7 separate regions of the Homo sapiens genome follow, and regions 2, 3, 4, 5, 6 and 7 are each linked to region 1. The links are contacts of gene promoters, found by promoter capture Hi-C in blood cells and fetal thymus (Javierre and others, 2016). All regions are on one chromosome and are shown on one strand. The core of a region is centred on a gene start or on the middle of the fragment in contact, and the rest is flanking DNA. Distances in the headings are between cores, read along the strand shown.

Evidence for each region. The method cuts DNA at HindIII sites, captures the fragments that hold promoters and counts their contacts. A CHiCAGO score of 5 or more calls a contact.
Region 2: a fragment that was not itself captured here is called in contact with the fragment with the promoter of ETS1 in region 1 in 16 of 17 cell types (activated CD4 T cells, total CD4 T cells, naive CD8 T cells and 13 more); the score reaches 32.4 in activated CD4 T cells.
Region 3: a contact is called between a fragment that was not itself captured here and the fragment with the promoter of ETS1 in region 1, in 12 of 17 cell types (activated CD4 T cells, total CD8 T cells, naive CD8 T cells and 9 more). The highest score is 16.7, in activated CD4 T cells.
Region 4: a fragment that was not itself captured here is called in contact with the fragment with the promoter of ETS1 in region 1 in 5 of 17 cell types (total B cells, non-activated CD4 T cells, activated CD4 T cells and 2 more); the score reaches 9.1 in total B cells.
Region 5: a fragment that was not itself captured here is called in contact with the fragment with the promoter of ETS1 in region 1 in 13 of 17 cell types (activated CD4 T cells, total CD8 T cells, total B cells and 10 more); the score reaches 22.6 in activated CD4 T cells.
Region 6: a fragment that was not itself captured here is called in contact with the fragment with the promoter of ETS1 in region 1 in 12 of 17 cell types (activated CD4 T cells, total B cells, non-activated CD4 T cells and 9 more); the score reaches 20.2 in activated CD4 T cells.
Region 7: a contact is called between a fragment that was not itself captured here and the fragment with the promoter of ETS1 in region 1, in 17 of 17 cell types (activated CD4 T cells, naive B cells, total B cells and 14 more). The highest score is 34.9, in activated CD4 T cells.

Annotation. Positions count from the first base shown.
Region 1 is chr11:128,586,199-128,588,982 of GRCh38, forward strand. ETS1 (ETS proto-oncogene 1, transcription factor) reads right to left here and starts at 1,360. Exons shown (of 10, transcript NM_001143820.2): 1 at 1,290-1,360. It overlaps LOC105369565 (a long non-coding RNA gene), which reads left to right. Exons shown (of 5, transcript XR_948163.3): 4 at 142-762. RefSeq lists a silencer at 1,313-1,519. The HindIII fragment of the contact is 9,036 bases long and covers 1-2,708 here.
Region 2 is chr11:128,195,709-128,198,492 of GRCh38, forward strand. No RefSeq gene overlaps it. Among named protein-coding and RNA genes, the nearest start is that of LINC02098, 12 kb to the right of the region's middle. The HindIII fragment of the contact is 5,347 bases long and covers 1-2,784 here.
Region 3 is chr11:128,220,350-128,223,133 of GRCh38, forward strand. The region is part of intron 3 of LINC02098 (long intergenic non-protein coding RNA 2098); the gene reads left to right. Among named protein-coding and RNA genes, the nearest start is that of LINC02098, 13 kb to the left of the region's middle. The HindIII fragment of the contact is 1,156 bases long and covers 755-1,910 here.
Region 4 is chr11:128,241,421-128,244,204 of GRCh38, forward strand. LINC02098 (long intergenic non-protein coding RNA 2098) reads left to right here. Exons shown (of 4, transcript NR_146647.1): 4 at 1-21. Among named protein-coding and RNA genes, the nearest start is that of LINC02098, 34 kb to the left of the region's middle. The HindIII fragment of the contact is 9,586 bases long and covers 1-2,784 here.
Region 5 is chr11:128,258,203-128,260,986 of GRCh38, forward strand. No RefSeq gene overlaps it. Among named protein-coding and RNA genes, the nearest start is that of LINC02098, 51 kb to the left of the region's middle. The HindIII fragment of the contact is 4,926 bases long and covers 1-2,784 here.
Region 6 is chr11:128,275,733-128,278,516 of GRCh38, forward strand. No RefSeq gene overlaps it. Among named protein-coding and RNA genes, the nearest start is that of LINC02098, 68 kb to the left of the region's middle. The HindIII fragment of the contact is 4,353 bases long and covers 1-2,784 here.
Region 7 is chr11:128,295,447-128,298,230 of GRCh38, forward strand. It overlaps LOC124902786 (a long non-coding RNA gene), which reads left to right. Exons shown (of 2, transcript XR_007062945.1): 2 at 1-703. Among named protein-coding and RNA genes, the nearest start is that of LINC02098, 88 kb to the left of the region's middle. The HindIII fragment of the contact is 2,255 bases long and covers 257-2,511 here.

The DNA of each region.
Region 1 (2,784 bases), core at 110-2,609:
TAGTTGATTTACAATTAGAAGCAGCATGCTTCTTCAAATATTAATATTAATAACTGCACTACTGAACACATGAAAAGACCTTTTCATCTTCAAAGCACTTTGCAGACATTAACCCATTAGCTCTCCCTTCCCTCCATTCAGGAACAACAGGTGAGCAAGACTCTCAACAGCAGCAGTGGCCACCCTGCAGCCCTTGTGCACAGCCCACGGCCCCTGAAGAAAAAGCGTTTTCTCTTTGGATAAAAATAGGCCACCAAACCCAAAACCACAACTGATGAAAGAGTTATAGTATCAGTAATTTTACAAATCAAATGGAGCTGATGGAGTTATCATTTTAGAATTGGTATTTCCTGCTGTTTAACAAATACTTTTTTCTCAGTTGCATGGCAGTGGTCTAAAGTAAGAAGGAAAATGGACTTGAGATTAAAAACAAAAACTTACCCAAAAGGTGATAAAGAAATCCTGCAATAGAATGCATTGATTTCAGTGACCCAGCACCCTTTTAAGTTTGCCTGAAGAAAATACTACTTTAAAAGTTGGTAACAGAGACCTTTAACGGTGGGTGAGGAGTCACATACAAAGTGTCACGGCCAGATAAAATCACCGGATGCAGAGGAATTGCCATCGACATCTCCTGCCACTGAGTCCAGCTCTACCGTGGGGACAAGAAATACCTCCCTAACTCTGAGACAACCGCGGCCCACACCCACACCATGTCTCAACAACAGACTTAGGAACTTGTAGATCTTTGGACAACTGCAGGTCAGTCCCAAGACAGAGAAAAACACCAAACAGGCTAGTTTGGCTAGCAAGATTCAAACCTGTAGCAATTTCCTCTCTATTAAAAGCAATTCATTAAACTACTAGCAGGAGAAAAAAGTAAAACAATAGATTTACTAGGAGTGAAAGAGAATAAAAAGAAATTTATATATTTAACTACAGCTTTATTTCTTTGGAAGTGCTCCAATTTGCAAAAAAAAAAAAAAAAAATCAGGGTTTCTGACAAGTAATCTACGGGTATCTAAAACGTGCATGGTTTTACTTTTGTGAAGCAGGGAACATTTTTAAAAACATAGTCTTGCTTTCAGACTATTCTGACGAGGTTAGGAAGTATTTTTGAAAATTGTTAAACAATTAAATGGGAATATAGAAAGACGTGAAAAGAGAAAGAGAAAACTCACTTGTATCCTGAATCTCCCTACCGACTTACTCTTTAATTCCACAGAAATTTTTTTAAAGCAGGAAAAGGAAAATGGACTGAAAAGTTTTAGGCAGAAACTGACACACACCTCACTTACTACTTTGCCGGAGAGCAGATCCTGAGTGAGCTTCCCTCAAAGTCTGTGGTCTCTTTCCAACTACCTGCGGGAATCCTCTGCTCCGTAGCTTAAGAGGATGCAAAGACCATAATGTTTCTAATAGAGCTGCCTCCTTAAATTGGGGGGTGTGGTCAAGCCAGGGAAAGCTGGAAAAAAGGCAGTCTTCCTCTTGCCCCTGGCACCAGGACAGCAGCCACTGGCACAGGCACAGCAGTCTAGGTGGAAAGCACTGTTGATTGACAGTGGTGGCACCAAATCACACATTATTTCGTATTCTTCAAATTGTGCTTCAGCTGAATATAACTCAGCCTTGGAGAGTAACAGGGAGGGAGATGAGCAAAAGGGAACTAGTTCAGTGGGATAACACTGTATCTCACCTCATCATTTGCTGATGCATTTACTCTCTGCTGAATATGTAAATATTCATGCTTCATGTTCCTTGACTTTCTCAATGGAGCCCCCATTAACCTAGGCAAGGTCTCAGGTGAGGGAAAGGGATTGCTTTAGAAACACAGGACGTCCACCACCCAGTCACCTGCTCAGGCTTCCCGTTTCTCTCTAATAACTTGATATGAAATGTGATATTTTCTAAAGAAAAGAAAATAATTTTGTGGAAGAGAGCTGACTGGATATGGACTTGGGATTTCTGAAAAGTAAAGCTAAAAATCCCCTTTTCATATAAGTCTGGTTTTAGGCAATCTCTAAAATAAGGATACTTTTAGCAGCCCTGACTCATGGTCCGTGGTGCAGGAATAAAAGGGCAGAAGTGTTCATACATTTCTCATTTAGGGAAAATGTAAACAATATGAAAATCTTACATCTGTCCTAAGTGAAAATACACAGCATCTTTTATTCACATATTCAGGACTATGGTAAGAATGTTACAGCATAATCTCATTTCTATGAATGGAGTTATTACAATTTTTTTTGAGAAGTCAGTATTTGGCTGCTTAATCTAAGACTTTTATCCTAAAAGATTCCATCTTCTTTGAGTAGGAGGTGGGAGTTAAGATTTGTCATAGTTGGCTTCTTTCTCTTTTTAATAAAGATACAAACTTAGAAAATCCTTGAAAATCTAATAACTGTCATTTGGAGCCATATCATCATCAGCCTTCATTGTATAAAGCTGGCAATGCAGTTAAGATGACATTGTAAGTAAAGCAAGATTTTACTGCTCATCTTCTGCCTTTGCACATTAACTTGGAAGTAAGGAAGAGGTAATGCTATTGGTTCACTTTAGTTTAATAAATTGCCTGTGCCAGGCACTGTTCTAGGCACTAGAAAGATAGCAAGTTTGCATTGTAGTGAGGAGACAGACACATAAATCAACGATCTCCCCCCAAAAATGTAATACATGCTACAAAAGAAGTCTATGAAGAGAGCTAGGGAAGCTTCAGCCTGCCCCTGTAACCCAGTCAATTTCAGCACACTGCCCCATTTAAAGAGCCCACGGTCAATTATACCA
Region 2 (2,784 bases), core at 85-2,584, 390 kb before region 1:
CATTCAGCCACCCAAAAATGCAACATATATTTCTCTGGATTTTTAATTTCCAGTATCTATCAGATAAATATATGTATATTTACATTTATATATATATATGTATATATTTAAAATAAATATATTGTATATAAAAAATATATATATATATTATTTTTTCTTGCCCTCTCCAAGTTCTTAACCACTTTAATTAACTTACTAGCTCTCCCACATGATATGAGACATGATTCACCTTCTACTGGATATGAGCCTACATGAAATTCAAATAGAGAAACGTCCTTACTGTCTAAACCTGAAACCACAGGGAGAAAGAAAATAGAAAACTTTTCACATAAGACAGGTAATTTTCTTAACAACTACAGATTAATATATTTTTTGCTGTAAATTTTATAGGACATTCTGTAGCCCAATTGCAAGAGCAAATTTTTCACAATGTATGTGTAGGTTTCTACCTTCAGTTTTAGAGAATATTTAGTGAAATCAGAGATTTGTTTTATTTATTTGAATATCTTTATTGTCTGCAGTTTTATTACTTTTGGAAAAAAAGAGGAAAAATCCAGCCTCTTCTGGTTTGCAATCTAAGCTCCATTTTTTTCAGGCTATTTTAAAGAGACTTCCATTATGAAATCCATTCTCTAACATCTGCAAGACTTGTCTTTTTCTGGAAGAAGAGTGGTTATAGTAATTGAGTAATAGGGAGTGAGATATGTCTCAGCATTCTGCACATTTTATTAATCACCAAGTGGTAAATAGTAAGCCTCTGCCCTCTATTTATAGTATAATTGGATGTATTTCATGACACTGGCTACACATCTGGTCAAACTGTAAAGCACACTTGCAGCCACCTTCTCTTTTTGAACTCCTAATGTATCACAGACTACAGAAAGATGTCTGCAGATAATAACAGAAACACAAAGTAATGAAAACCTTCATGAAGGACACTTCCATGGATTGCCAGAGCATGTGTCAATCTATGAGAAACTTTGATGGATTCAGCGACCTTCTTGAATTAAACAACACAATAAAAGGTTTTAATGGTAATGTAAATTAAAAATGCAATGTTAAGTAAGGCCTTAGGGATCTTGGTGAGCAGAACTGTTGAGATGGTGTTCGCAACGGAGTCTAATTCTTTGCACAATCATACATTCACACACATCGGTATACAAACTCCTGAGTTCCCACATGTGGATTCACAATTTGTAAAAGATTCTGTTTTTCATTAGGCTGGGAAGAAATGTGTTCCACATTTCTTTAGGATTTGAATTCTTTATAGGGAGAGGGTGGAAAAAGGAATCTATCTGAATATTGGACTTCAAAAACATAAGAACCAAATAAAGAGATCTGCACTCCAGAGTATAACTAATTCCAAATTACTTTGCCCAGTGATTTTAAGAAGTGAGATTAAATGTAATAATGCCTACTTTCCCCAGGATTTGAGTTTTCTGGACAGCATTTACCAAATGGGACTGGTAGAGGGTGTAATAGTGCTAATAGAAATGGTACCATTCTTACCTTCCCTATTAGATCTTCAGTTAGATATTGGCAGCCCCATGGTGTTTGTGTTTACTAATCAATGCTAGTGGTTCCAGGAAGCATTTCACAGTATTAATGAATTACAGGCTTAATAAACCTGTTTTCCCCAATTTCATGACTTTCTAGGTCAGAAATTCTCAAATATTAATGTACCAAAGAGTCTCCTAAGTAGCTTGTGAAAAGTACAGATCCAAGCCATGCCCAAAGATGGAGTCTACATCTCAGTCTCAGATTCTGCGAGATATCCGTAGGGTATTCTGAGATACCCTACGGATAATCCAGATGCAAATGATCTCTAAAGTTCACTTTTAATAAATGCTGTTCCAGAGATATTTCCCTACTTCATCTTCTGTCTTCTCCAAAATCATAAAGCTATTGGGGGGAGAGGGTTCAGTAATTATGCTTATTCTTGATTGTTGGACAGTAAGTCACTTCAATAGCACTCCCTATAGCACCATCATATTTAGGGGCCTTAAAAAATAAGTTAGCCTTCAGTGAAACTCAATCAGTACTTAATCAATTACTCTACCCAAGGATGATTAGCATTCTTTTTGTTCTAAGACATAAATTAGATGGAGGATGAGAGTCATCAGTGAAATGGATGCCCTACTACCATAAAGTCATTTGGCATTATGTATTATAAGACATAAGTGTATTGTGATAAATTAATCCTATTATATTATTATATGACTATGTTATATTACTATTAATATGTCAAATAATTTGATATTCTTATGATAAAATGATATTCCTGCATGGTTGTATCAAATAGCTGTCAGATGAAAATTACGAGTTATTTATCTACTGTCACTAATCAATGATTTTACTATCAATAATTTGTGCTACTGGGAGATTTTATTGGAAACTATAACAAAAATAAGAGGTACTATCTATATGTTAAAAACTGATTTGATTGTATTATGCTTTTTTAGCTCTGATTACCTGAAAGTTATAAATACATTGAGTTTTTGCCCTAATTATCCAATAATTGTCTTATTTCAATATTTTATTCTGTAATTTAATATTCTGTTCCATCTATGTTCATGACTGTCACTCTCCAGAGCACATTTTTTTTCAATGAGTAAAATTACTAACAGAAAGGGGGGACTTAATTTAACAGGAAAAAAAATTATGCAAGAAAGGATTTATGGTCCTGCAGATGTTTCCAGCTGAAATACCAGCTGGCATTGTAGTTGTTTGTGTGGAGTGGAATCCCATAAGCCAATGAAAGGAGACAATCAGTTTTAGCTGACT
Region 3 (2,784 bases), core at 83-2,582, 370 kb before region 1:
ACAACGATGTGACATCCCACCTCTAGCAATAAGAAAAGCTGTAGCTTTGGATCTATGAACACAGAAGTGTTATAATAATTGTTCAGTCACATCCTATTCGCCTAAGAAAAATAACTTGCCTTTATAAATTACTCACTAGCAGGGAGTATCTCAGCACTGAATGAATTTCGCTATATTTTCACTAGTCTTCAAATAAAATCTCTTCATCACAAGACACTGAAATGGACAGGACTATTCAAGAAGTGGAATTTAGGCTGGGAACAGTGGCTCACACCTGTAATCCCAGCACTTTGGGAGTCCAAGGCAGGAGGATCATTTGAGTCCAGGAATAAGAGATCAGCCCAGGCAACATGCTAAGGCCCCATCTCTACAAAAAATGCAAACGTTAGCCAGCATGGCGGTGCAAGCCTATGGTCCCAGCTACTCGGGAGGCTGAGGTGGGAGGATAACTTGAGCCCAGGAGGTTAAGGCTACAGAGAGCTATATAACTGCACTCCAGCCTCGGCGACAGAATTAGACCTTGCCTAAAAAATAAAAAGGTGGAATTTAGAAAGTCAGCATATATTTCCTCTGCTTTTAAAAAATCTCTGCAAAGATATCTTGCATAATTATGCCCACCTCCCACCTCTGTGGATCAAGAGCCACCTTATGTTTGCAAAAACTTAAATTTTACAGAACATTTTAGAAGAGGTCTGATTAGTTGTTTCTGGAACAAGATGGACTTGGAATACCAAAGACACACAGAGAGTAAAGAAGCTTGGGTCTAAGTGAAGGCTGGTCCTTTTATCTTATGTGTAACTTTTGTTTTTGTTTGTTTGTTTGTTTGTTTTTTTAGACAGAGTCCCACTCTGTAGGCCAGGCTGGAGTGCAGTGGCATGAACTCAGCTCACTGCAACCTCCACCTCCCGGGCTCAAGCAATTCTCCTGCCTCAGCCTCCTGAGTAACTGGGATTACAGGCGTGTGCCACCACACCAGGCTAATTTTTTTTGTTTTTTGTATTTTTAGTAGAGATGGGGTTTCACCATGTTGGCCAGGCTGGCCTTGAACTCCTGACCTCAGGCAATCCGCCCACCTCAGCCTCCCAAAGTGCTGGGATTACAGGCGTGAGCCACCGCACCCGGCTCTTATGTGTAACTTTTAACAAGTCATTTAACCCCTCTGACCTTCAATGTATTCATCTGTAAAGTGTAGACAATGTCTTCCCTATATATTATAAATGACTTAGGAAGATTAACCAGTTAATACGTGTATTAAAATTATCATCACTGACCATGCTGCGTCAGTTTCCTATTTCTGATTTCCTACTAACTGCACCAGATTAATCATAAAATTCCACTTTCTTCATGCAATCAAAGAATGCTGATTTTGGGCAGGACAGTATTATTCTGTATCCAAAACATGCCACAGCATAGCCTCAGTCTACCATTTCCACCTTCAATCTCATTTCCCAGCACTCCACAACATGTGTGCTGTGGACTCAGCCTGAACTATCCTACAAAATATCTTTGCCTCCATGTCTTTGTTTACCCCAGAGATAAATAAAGTATACATTCTGCCTTCGCATGTTTGGGCTTTCTCCACACCCTTGAATGTCTCCCTTGGAGTTCACAAGGTAGTGTCCAGGCTTTTGGCTTGAGATGTAACATTATTCATCTTTTTCCTCTCTCCTGTATTGTCTCCTTGAGGAAAGAGATAATGTATTCTGATTGGTCGTTTTCTGTTTTGGGTTTTTATTTTTTGTATTTTTCACAACATAAAGAACAATATTTTGCACACAGCAGATGCTCAATAAATGCCTTTTAAACAATGAATGATTTCAATTTCATATAAATGCAAGACTTGTTCTGTGGACTCCACCTTTCAGAAGAGTGGGTAGAGACAGAGGTCACCTCTTCTTATCTGCCTCGGAAGCTTATTGAAAAAAGAAGTGTGCGGCCCAGAAGAAACAAGGGTGCTGAGAGCCTCTAGGGAGAGCCACCTTGGTCCGAAATGAAGAATGCAGAGGTTTATCCTTCAGCCTTGAGTAATAAATCCCTCAAACCTTGAATTATTTTTCACTATAAACAAGAAGGCATTCTCTGAGTACTTAAAAATTCTTGAGATAGCAGCAGGTCATGGGAAGCCATGCAAAGTCTGCTCAGTGCAGGAATCTGATTCTGGGTGTCCCCCTGGGAAACCAATCTCCTGAACCCAAGGAGATCCTCATCTCTGAATTTTTTCAAATAGCCACAAAGGAGACCTAAGTCGGAAGACTTAACCTCTTCTATGCTCAAGTAAGCCCTTAGCTGCAACTGGAATTCAGAGTATTTCCACTTCAGAATATCACACACATTTCGGAGGAAATGGGGGATTGACTTAGCCTGGAAAGATAAGGCATCAAGGAGATCTCAAAGGAGAAAGCAGTTTTTAGCCTCTCCACACAGTGCATTACTAGGGCAATCACCAAACATTTAACACCTGCACTGTGGCTTCAGCAGGGAGCCCTGGCTTCTGCTTGGTTACCCCTGCTGAATTCCCCTCAGCACAAATGAGAACTGGCTGTGATTTCTTTCTCTTTTTTAAATTTTAAGTTATTGGGTGCATGTGCAGGATGTGCAGGTTTGTTACATAGGTAAATGCGTGCCATGGTGATTTGCTGCACCCGTCACCCCATCACCTAGTTATTAAGCCCAGCATGCATAAGCTGTATTTCCTGATGCTTTTCCCCCTCCGACAGACCCCAGTGTGTGTTGTTCCCTTCCTGTGTCTATGTGTTCACATTGTTCAGCTCCCACTTATAAGTG
Region 4 (2,784 bases), core at 191-2,690, 340 kb before region 1:
TTGAGATGATAAATATGCTAATTACCCTGATCTGATCACTATACATGATATGTATGAAAACATCACTATGTACCTTGTAAAATTATTATACGTCAATTAAAAAAAGGGAAAATGTGTTGTGCTTAATTATAATAAGAAAATTTAAACAGATTGATGAGAATTCAAAGTTTTCACTGATGTGAATATTAGTTAACAGGAAAAAAGAACTCATAAAAACTGTTCCATACTTGTTTTACCCCAAAATGTTAATCCATGCTGTTATAGATACCCTGTGAGACACACAAATGCTTTTCCAACTCATTGATTTCAAATCAAAGGGCAAAATATACATTAGTAATGATGATATGCCAAAACGCTCCTTAATGTGAACATCAGTATTTACGTTTTAATGTCAGTTACAAAGATCCCTGGGCGGGCGCGGTGGCTCACACCTGTAATTCCAGCACTTTCGAAGGCCGAGGCTGGTGGATCATGAGGTCAGGAGATCGAGACCATCCTGGCTAACACAGTGAAACCCCGTCTCTACTAAAAATACAAAAAATTAGCCGGGCTTGGTCGTGGGTGCCTGTAGTCTCAGCTACTTGGGAGGCTGAGACAGGAGAATGGTGTGAACCCGGGAGGCGGAGCTTGCAGTGAGCTGAGACAGCGCCACTGCACTCCAGCCTGGGCAACAGAGCGAGACTCCGTCTCAAAAAAAAAAAAAAAAAAAAAAAAAAAAAAATCCCTAAGCAGAGATTTGGGATCCTTTATATTCATGAATCTTTAATTCAGGAGTTCAAGATACCACAAACCGGCCGAGTGTGGTGGCTCATGCCGGTAATCCCAGCACTTTGGAAGGCCAATGCAGGTGGATCACTAGAGCCCTGGAGTTAGCCTGGGCAACATGGGGAAACCCCCCGTCCCTACAAAAAACTACAAAAGTTAGCCAGGCGTGATGGCATACGCCTGTAGTCCCGGCTACTCAGGAGGCTGGGAGGACGGCTTGAGTCCAGAAGGTGGAGGTTATAGTAAGCCGTGAACATGCCACTGCACTCCAGCACGTGCAACAGAGCAAGACCCTCTCCTCTTCCTCTCTCACAAAAAAAAAAAAAGAAATCACAGAACTATATTACTGCATATTTGTTTGTGTACAATTTACTTTTAATGTGACAACTTCTAGTTTCCCAATAAACTGAAATCCTACACTGAAAAAATAAATCCAGTAACTCACAATTATGTGTTTTGGCTGGCCAAGCATGTTTATCATTTTAAAATAAAATACAGTGTTGCAAAAACAGTTGTAGTAGCTTGGCAATTGTGTTTCAGTACTGTAATGCATGGGTATCAGAAGAGATTGGGCAGATTTCAGCACATTAAGTTACATTTTATTATAGTTCATTACATTTAAGAAAAAATTAACTGAAAATGCCATTTTTCTTGTTATCAGCATGGAAAGGCCTCAGTATAATAAGTACCATGAATTGATTTATTGAGCACTTACCATGTGCCAGTCAATTGACACTGTTGTCACGTAGTCTTTTAACATGCCTGTGGAGTAGACAGATTATTTTTATTTACATTTATAGATGAAAGTGAGTTTTGGAGAGGTAAGGTAACTGTACTCAAGTTAAAAAAGAAGAAAAAAGGTAGTAAGTATAGTAAGTAGAGGTTCTGAGAATGAAACCCAGCTGCATATGATTCCTTAGACTATGATAACTTCTCTGCTATTGTCATTTGCACAAGCTGGCTAAAAATAAACAAATAAAAGGAGCAAAACTAAAACAAAGAGATCCCATGCACACAAGATGTGCACATAGACTCCTATACCTAAGGAATCATCATACACTAAAAGCTCATATGTTTCCAGGTATTTTTCCTGAAGAGTTGATGGAAATGTATCCTTTGAAGGGTATAATGTGCCACCAATCCTTACCATTCTCCTCCCTCCCATTGCTCTAGTGTCTTGTGTTTTGAGGTGAGTATCCTGAACCAGACCTCTGAGTAGCTGAGTCTGTAGGTAAAACACACATTCATATCATGGACCCTAAGGAGGCTGTGTGCAAATGTACCCTTTCATTTACACGCTAGATCAAAGGCTGTAAACATCATTCCTGAAGACGCATGTGATCATCTTAGCAATGCTGACGTGTACAAATGTGGATGAAGATCAAATTTGCTTAGAGTTGTCTTTCTTTAGCTATTTCTCTTTTAAAACCTATGCTTGGAGTTTTAAAAGAGTTCAAAGCAAAAGTTAAACAATTTTATACCAGCTCTCATCCAAGATAAGACCAGTAGCATCACCAACACAATCAAAATGGTCCCAAGCAATGTTCCATTTGAGAATTCTTTTACCACAAACTTTTAACCCTCATGTACTTCAGAGGAAAACATTTTGTTTATGCTTATTTCAGCAAACGTTACTGAGTAAAACTGATGGGCTCTTTAAGTTGTTTCACAAGGTTTGATTTTAAATCAAGATGCTATAAATTAAGAAGGCTTTTAAAAATTCAACTTTCTAAAGATGTCAAATTTTACTGGGTATGTTTAAAATCAAAGGAAATGTTCTAAATAATATTTCAACTTGCAAAAGATGTTCAACTAAAAACCTGATGGAAAATAGCCAAGCATGGACAGCTTTACAGTAGAGGGGAGATGAGGCAGGGCTTGTCAGGACTAAATGAGCTATGAAAATCATTCCAATGTGGGTTCCAATAATGGCTGCACAATTGCCTTCTATGAGACCTCTGCTCTTCATTGACTCAGAGGTCAACTTTTAAGAATGTATAGAAGATTAAATTGAGATAA
Region 5 (2,784 bases), core at 186-2,685, 330 kb before region 1:
GTTAGCATATGGATATATGGATAAACCAAAGCAATAAAATACTATTTAATCCTAATTATGTGGGTAAATATATTCAATTTTTTACTTAAAGATTTTTAAAAGATAATTGGTTGTTTAAACAGACAAATAAAAATATAACATAAAGTCTATAATGCATGTATAATTGAAATGCAAACTATGATAGAAAATAGATTAATGGTCCTCTGGGGCCTAGGTTAGGGTAGAGATTTGAGAAGCTAGAAAGATAAATTACAAAGGGACGAGGGCAAATTTGGGGAGATTACAGATGCTTTCACTATCTTAATCATGCTCATGCCCTCACAAGTATACACATATATCAAAACTTCTCCAATTTTACATTAAAAATAAAAGTCTATAAACAAAGTCACTGTGTTAAGGTTTTATAGCAAGTTCAATTTAACTATCCAGTAATAAACAGTCTCTATTTTATAAATCGTATCAGGAACTAGAAAAGGAGGGAACTATCCCCAAATCATTTAACAAGGGTAATATTACCTTGAAACCAAACTAGAATAGGGTAGCATGAGAAAGGAAAAAGTTTATATTAGGTTTGGGGCAGATTTGGTACTTGGCTTGGAGTCCTCTGCTGAGAGAAACAGACTACAAGGACATTCAACAGCACCTCCTATGCAGTTAGATTTACAAGGGCCCCTGAAATCCACTGCTGGCTCCAGGGCAGGGACAGACCTCAGCCCCCCAACCTACATATGCCCCAGCTGTTCCACTTTTGAAGTTTACCAAGCAAGCAACTGTTTAGAGACAATTTAATTGTAATGAGCCCTCATAGCTAAGTGGTCTTTTATTAGCCCAAATGGAATCCCATGCGTCAGGAGGGGTCACCTTCTCCCAATTCCCCTCCAGTCTTTCCCCATTAAAGTGAAATATGGCTTTAATATAGTCACACCTGGGGGAAGTGCTCTCTTAACCGGCAGCCATGGATGCCCACCCTCCCCTATTTAAAGGTTGCCTCTTATTTCTTTATTCCTCTGGGCTGGGTTTGGCAGCTTTTTGAATGATCAGATTAGTTTTAAAGTCAATAGAAACATAGCATACGAATAGCAAAATCACTGGCACTTAAGTACTTTGGAGCTGACTTCAGTCATAATTTAAGTATAAAGAGATTGGGGGAAGACAGAACAAATAGCCCATGAAAACTAGTTTTAGAGTTCTTTATTCAGTATGTGTTTGGGGAAATTGCAGGATAGACGACTCCAACAAATCCAGGTTTTAGTGTCTCTTGGGCTCCTGAAGCCTGGGAAAGGCAAAGTGGGCCAAAGCTGGCCTCAGTGTGTGTGGGAACTGCAGGGGATGGGGGTTAGGAGGACAGTTTATAAAGAAAATGGTTCAAAGCTCTATTTTGATTCCTAGGGTAAAGTAGGCTACCAGGAGGAACACAGAGTTCATTCAAGGCACAAAGCTCAGATTAAAATGTTTCATCAGCTTTCTAACTTCCAGCACGCTCACACTTGGGCACATCTAGCAGCCTGTGTACACCCAGAATTCTGTTGCTTTGGGGCACCAACAATACACTGAAACCAGTCTATGATGATTTTCATTCTCAATCATGTTAGCGAAGGCTCAGAACAGTTAACAACTATGAGAAGGTCACACAGCCCTCAACCCTTTGACTCCAAAGTCTGTGTGCTATGGGAGTCAGTGGATGAGAATACGTTCCTCTCTTGTTGTATTTTCTTGGCTCTCACTTACTTCTAAAGGTGTCTTTCATATTTTCAGCCTCCTCCTTTTACAAATAAGTCAACAGTATGGCCTGGCAGAGTCACTTAGTAGCTTTCCTCCAGTCATGGGTGATCAAATATTCTTTTGCATATTTGGCATATTTATATTCCTCAGGAAGTTGTATCCACTGGCCCATATCTTCAGTCAAATATAAGTTTTATGGTTGCAAAGTTCTAAATCTCTCTTACTCTCACATTTAAATTATCCCAGATCTTTCTGGAGATTCAAGGTCTACAGGAACCAGCAAGTATCTCTAAGCTGTGACTTAAAGAATTTGATTTATTTGGCTTCTTCTCCTTTGAATAGCTTGAGTGTTCCTGCTACAGGGAAAGGCCACAGAGTAAACAAGAAAATAAAATAACTAATGAAATCCAAGTATCTAATTCCAACAGAAGAGAAAGAGAGAGAGAGAGATCATGTAGAGACTCAAATAAATTATTTTGATTTACTATCTGAAACCTTAGATCAAATTTCTGACTACTTTTATTCACACATTCATTGCATCATTTTTTCCTCAAAATCCGCCTTTACTTTTGATCTCAGGCTGCTCTCAGAAACTATGATATCATTGAGTACTACAGTATTCCTCTTTTTCCTTGAAAAGGTCACTTATTTAATTTGCTCCTTGGACAAAAGCCCACGTGCCTTATAATCAAGGCCTGATCTTGCTTAATGCCATGAGAGTGAAAGGGATGTAGAGAGAGTTTATTCTTTTTCTAATGATATTCATATGAGCTGCTGCATTCCCACAAAAACAGGGCCAGGAAGGGTATGCTTAGCTTTTTCGAGAAAGGTGTAATAGTCAGGCAATATTTTTCCTATCTGTAACTCAGCTCCTTGAAAATGAGCCACTGTGGCATACCAGCTAGGAGATACTTTAGGTCTAGAATGTGGACATTCTGCTATAATGTTTCCTCACATAAATAGGAAACAGAAAATATTCTAGAGCAAAAGCAAAATTAACATGATCTGAGCTTACTCCGAAAATGTAGAATTCAAATTACATATGGAAGATCTTAACCAGAA
Region 6 (2,784 bases), core at 179-2,678, 310 kb before region 1:
CTAAAATTATGTTACAGATCAGTGAGAAAGTTTGGATAATTCAATAAATGAGGCTAAGGTAATTGCTTTTTTATAAAGGAGAAAATAAAATTGGATATCTAATTGATACCATACATTAAAATAGATTCCACGTTTCTTAAAAGTTTAAATTTGAAAGTCAGAGCTTAAAATCTTTAAACATTGGAGAATATTCTTATTATCACAGGGTTGAAGATAATTTTTAAGACACATAATCTGGAAATCTATAAGACAATATTAATATGTTTGCCTACATTAAAATTTAAACATATTCATCAAAGAGGCCATGAGTAGAGAGGAAAGATAAGCCATAAACTTGGAAATGTTTAAAACACATATAACCAAAAAGAGACTTTTTCCCAAAATAGATTACATTGAACCATATGAAATTGCCTCCTTTGTCTATCTAAAATGATCGAATATTGCTATTTCTTATGGTTCAACCTAACAAAAGAATTTCTATGAATCATTCAGAAAAAAGATAGACCAATAGAAAAATGAGTAAAAGAGATAAACTAGCTCTTCTGAGAAGAAGAAATAAATAGCTAACAAATATTTTAATGGATGCCAATTTCACTAGAATGATAGAATTGTAAAATAAACCATAATTACATATGATTTCACATCCACTAAATTGACTAAATGTATACAATCTGACAATGTCGGGAATCCCAGTGTGTTCTAAGCATTGTCAATGATGTGAGGCAAAAAACATTGCATTCATGCTGGTTTTTCTTCTTGGAATCGCACAGGATTAAGTGTGCCCTGTCACTCTCTCAATGTCCTCTCTTTTCATTACAACAGCACACAGCTGAGAGTTTTCCTGGGTAAGGTATTTACCCTTGTGAATTTGAGCCATGTCTACATTTGCACTGTAAACTTTCATCCCTGGCACTCTTCAATCCTTCATGCAAATCTGTGATTCCAATGAATATCATTCTTCTTCAGCTGGAAGAACTTCCTTTGATATTCCTTTCAGTACAGGTCTGCTGGTGATTAATTTTCTCAGCATTTTTTGTTTGTTTGTTTGAAGACACCTTTATTTGCCTTTGTTTCTGAATGATAGTTTTGATTGATATGGAATTGTTACACGACAAGTTTTTTTTTTTCTTCCAACACTAAAAATGTGGATCACTATGTTTTGGCTTGCATTATTTCTGATGAGAATTTCGCAGTCATTCTTATGGTTTTTTCCCTATAGGTAATGTGTCTTTTTCTCTGGCTTCTTTTAAAATATTCTCTTTATCATTGGCGTGTCTTTCATTCACACAAATTTTTGGTCTGTTCATTTTGTTTTTGAGAAAGCTAACATTTTAATTTTTCTATTGTTATGATTTATCTATTAATTCAATAATTTTGGAGCAGAAGCGGGGAATCTCAAAGTATTTACTTATTAAGCCACCTTGCCTGAAGTTGTAAGTACACTTGTGTTTTCACCAATTCCATACTACTTTAAGTATTACTGCTTTAGATAAATCTTAATATTTGATAGAGTTGGTGAATTCTGGTTATTCCTCTTTTTCAAAAATCTTCTTTAATTATTTCATCAAATTATTTTTAAATAATTTTTTAATACAAAAAGCCTTAGGCTGAATGTTTTTGGAATCATACTATATATCCATAAATTAATATATGGATTTGATATATTTGAGATATTTAATCTTTATTCCCAGAAACATGGTACATTTCTCCATTGATTCCAGGTTCATCTAGAACAGTTAAAAACACATTTATGTGGATTCGTACCCAAGTGCTTTTTGTTGCTGTAACAACCTAGATCACATAGTAAATGTCTATGGTTGCCCAATGGTTTGTCGCAGAGCCCTTCCCACAATCTTGTTCTTTTTAATAATTTTACCAGTTTATCAGAAATCAAAAATAATTTTAGGTTTATCAAAAAACATAAAAGATGTGTGTCTGTGGAGGAATAACTAATATAACAAATTACTAATCACTTTCACTATGGTGAAAATCTTGGTTTCAGGAAAAAGAGATCTGGACTTCAGCAATTCTTTTCAGTAAATGGTACCCTGTAGAGGGCAAAAAGGCTATTTTATCTAGTAAATACTATTTTCACTCCAAAGATCCATCCCACCAGAGAGGTGGAGAATCAGCATGAGTCATTGTTGGGGTTTCCTTCAATCTTCTGGGTTATGCTGAGGCTCTGGGGTCTTATTTAAGACCAGGGTGACATTAAGACCTCTTTGTGCATCCATCCATAGATTTATTCCTGAGTTCCCATTATTCCTGTATGCATATTCGTTTGAGGTTTGTGTGTTGTAAGCTCTCTGCCAACTTAGGGCACTGAATGTTTATCTGGAAAGAGTTTCTTTAGTTAATTTGTGTGTCTGCTAGAATTTTATTCACCTTCATTTTTAAAGTATATTTTTACTAAGTTGAGAATTCTGAATAGCAAGGGTTTTGTTTTTGTTTTTCCTTTCAGCACTTTAGAGGTCTTATTTTATTGTCATCTGGATTTTATAGTTCAGTTGGCATGTTCACCATTGTCCTTAAGGCTGTTCCCTTAAAGATAATGCACATATTTGTAATCTGTCTGCTTTTGAAATTTTCTCTTGGTCTTTGCTTTACAGAAGTTATAATACCATGGCATAGAATATTATGAATAGGGCTTGCTGAGTTTCTTGAATATTTTTCTTCATGTCTTTAGTCAGTTTGGAAAATTCTCTGCCAGTGTTTCTTCAAATATTGCTTCTGTTTCATACTCCTCCCCCTCTCCTTCTGGGACTCTGAGAACAGATATGTCAG
Region 7 (2,784 bases), core at 134-2,633, 290 kb before region 1:
AGGAGAAAGATGTTTGTCCCTAATCACAAACACAGTTCCTGGTCCTGGAAAAATGTGACCTAGGTGGAGAAAGAAACAATAAAAAACAGAAAAGAAGGAGGCAAAAGAGGAGCCAGTGACCAAAGGCAAGCTTCACTTATTTATCCTGGGTCTGCCCAGGAATCTAGCATCAGACAGTAAGAGCCAACATGGAGACAAGTCAGGCCAGTGACCTCAGAGGCACGCGGCCACTAGAAAGAAGCCCCCGATGGCATGAAGCTTTGTTCTCTGACATAACCTATGCATCTAGCACTGTGCCTGCCTACAGGAGGTGCTCAGTTACTAGGAAATTAACAAAACTGCCTTGCAGATCTTTCCTGGCTGAAGATGAGGAGTGAGGGAAGAGAAAGAAGACAACTAAATTAGGCCCTCAGCTCCTATTTCCAGAACAGTTCTGAGAGTGTCTGTTTCAGAGTTTGAGTTTCCACAACTGCCTTTGTTAACAGGAGGGATCTATAAAAAACCAATGGTCTGGACCAGGGGCTCCCACTCTGAAAGTCTGTGACTACCAGGGGCAGTGGAGTTCTTTCACGATTCGCCTAATGTTGTTGTCTTAGAAATAATACCACTTATACAAAATACAAAACCAGCAGGACTATTTCCCAAATAAATGTAAATGAGACTGGAATTAATAAAGGTAAATTCATTTTTTAAAATTACAAAATACATAAAATCCTTTTGCTATTAAGTGTCAATGAGCCATCATGAGTATAAAAACTATAGTATGTTTTATGACTGTATTGATATTTGGAAGGGATTTCCCTGTTCATAATGTTTGGAAACCACTGCTCTGGACCTGTCCCCTAATTTCATAGATAACATCTTATAAACTTCTTCCAGAGGGGAAGAAGGATGTGGCCAAAGCCACTCAGCCTTCTGGTAGCAGAGCTGGGTATCAAATTCAGGTCATCTCTGTCTTTTTCTTTACATCACATTTCCTGAGGTGGCATTTTCTAATACCTTGATCCAAAAGGACCACTCAGTTCAACTCAATTTATTTCCCAACTGGTGATGTTGGTAGCCTAAATGGTGTGCCAGGCACTGCATCCTCTAAGTGTATTATTGTCACCACCCTTACATCACCTCAGTGAGGCAAGTCCTATTATCATTCCCATTTTAAATGTTAAAAAAAAAAATGGGGACTCAAAGAGTTAGACAGTTTTTACCAGGCCACATGATCAGCAAAGTGCAAAGCAAAGCTCAAATTCTCTGACTCCAAAGCCCAGGCTCTCATGCACTTTACTGCACACGACTTAAGGAACACATTTATAACAAACACTGGTGTCCATTGAAATAAAATTTAAGGGCATTAAAGGCAGCCCTCGGCAGTGTCAGCGATGACCCCACAATGACTGCTGTGGGCAAGGAGTGGCAGGAGGCAAGAGGTCCCAAGAAATGCCCCTAGAGAGGCCGTTTCTCAAGTGGAGAATGTGGACCCCAAGACCAGAACCACCTGAGTGTTTCCTGAGAATATCATATCTTAGATTTCATCCAGAGCAGTTCAAACAAGATCTCATGAGTGGATCTGGAGTATCTGCAGTTACTACAAAAACCCCAGCTGCCTTTGAGCTCACCGTAGTTTGAGAATGAGAGGGCTGAGAGACCCCAGGCAGGGTGTCAGTGTGAGGAGATGAAGGAGCAAGAAAGTAAAAGTCAACAGCAGGCCCAGCTCCAGCTGCAGAGGAGCCTAGTTGAGCCTCAGACACACGCTTGATGCTTCACATAGGGCCATTCCCCACAGCCTGGCTTTCTGCAGAGGGAGGAGGGGTGCCTTTCATGGTTCTGGGTGTGCAGAAGGTTTGCGTGTGTTTGTTTAGAACAAAGCCTATACTTAACTGGCACAAGTGAAACAGATTTTATAAATAGATGTGAGCATGAATGGTTTTTATGATTAGCTTGTTTTTAATCACCATGCTTGACCGGTGTCTGTGTTCAACTAAGTAAATATTTCTATGGTGATAGTATACACAATACAATGGCCATTATTTAATGTTAATACAAGTACCATATGGGAGGTCTTATCATGCGAGAGCCCCAAAGCATAATAAAAGCAGATAGGAATAGATAGGCAAGGGTGGGCCTTGCTGTACAGCTGGCTTGATAAAACATCTGCTCTTACAAATGTTGGCCATGCAAGTATTTATGCAAGATGGTTCTCCTGGGGGATTTTGGGGACAAGATCAGAAAGCCATGGATTCTGCGTTTTCTCTGTTACTCATTTGGTGACCTTGGATAAGTCTCTATACTAATTGTTTAAACATTTGTGCTTTAATTTCTCAATTCTTAGGTCTTTGCCTGCCCTCCAGAGACTAATGAAGATTAATTAACACCTGGCAGAATCCTTGAGTTATATTTTTAGAACAAAGAAACAGGGAAGGGTGGTGCTGAAATAATGCCTCATTATTTTAACATATAAAAGGGAGACAATCCAGTACATTTTTCACTTACAACTGGAAATTTGAGAAAACTTGAAGCTTCCTGAGATTAGTAAAGCAGCCTTGTCATGAACAAAGCCTCTTAGGAAATGTACTAGGTTGCAAACCTCGCCAGATGACTTTTCACTCAGTAGGAACAACTAAGATGATAAAGGGCATGAAACTAGAATGATTGTCTCCTGAAAAAGGGCAAATGGGAAGGTTAGAGCTTTTAGTGTCGTGGAAAGGGACATTTGCCTGTTCACAAAGGCGTTACTCCTCTGATTTGCCTTTCATTTTTTAACTTGATGATACTACAATGTTTAGTGCA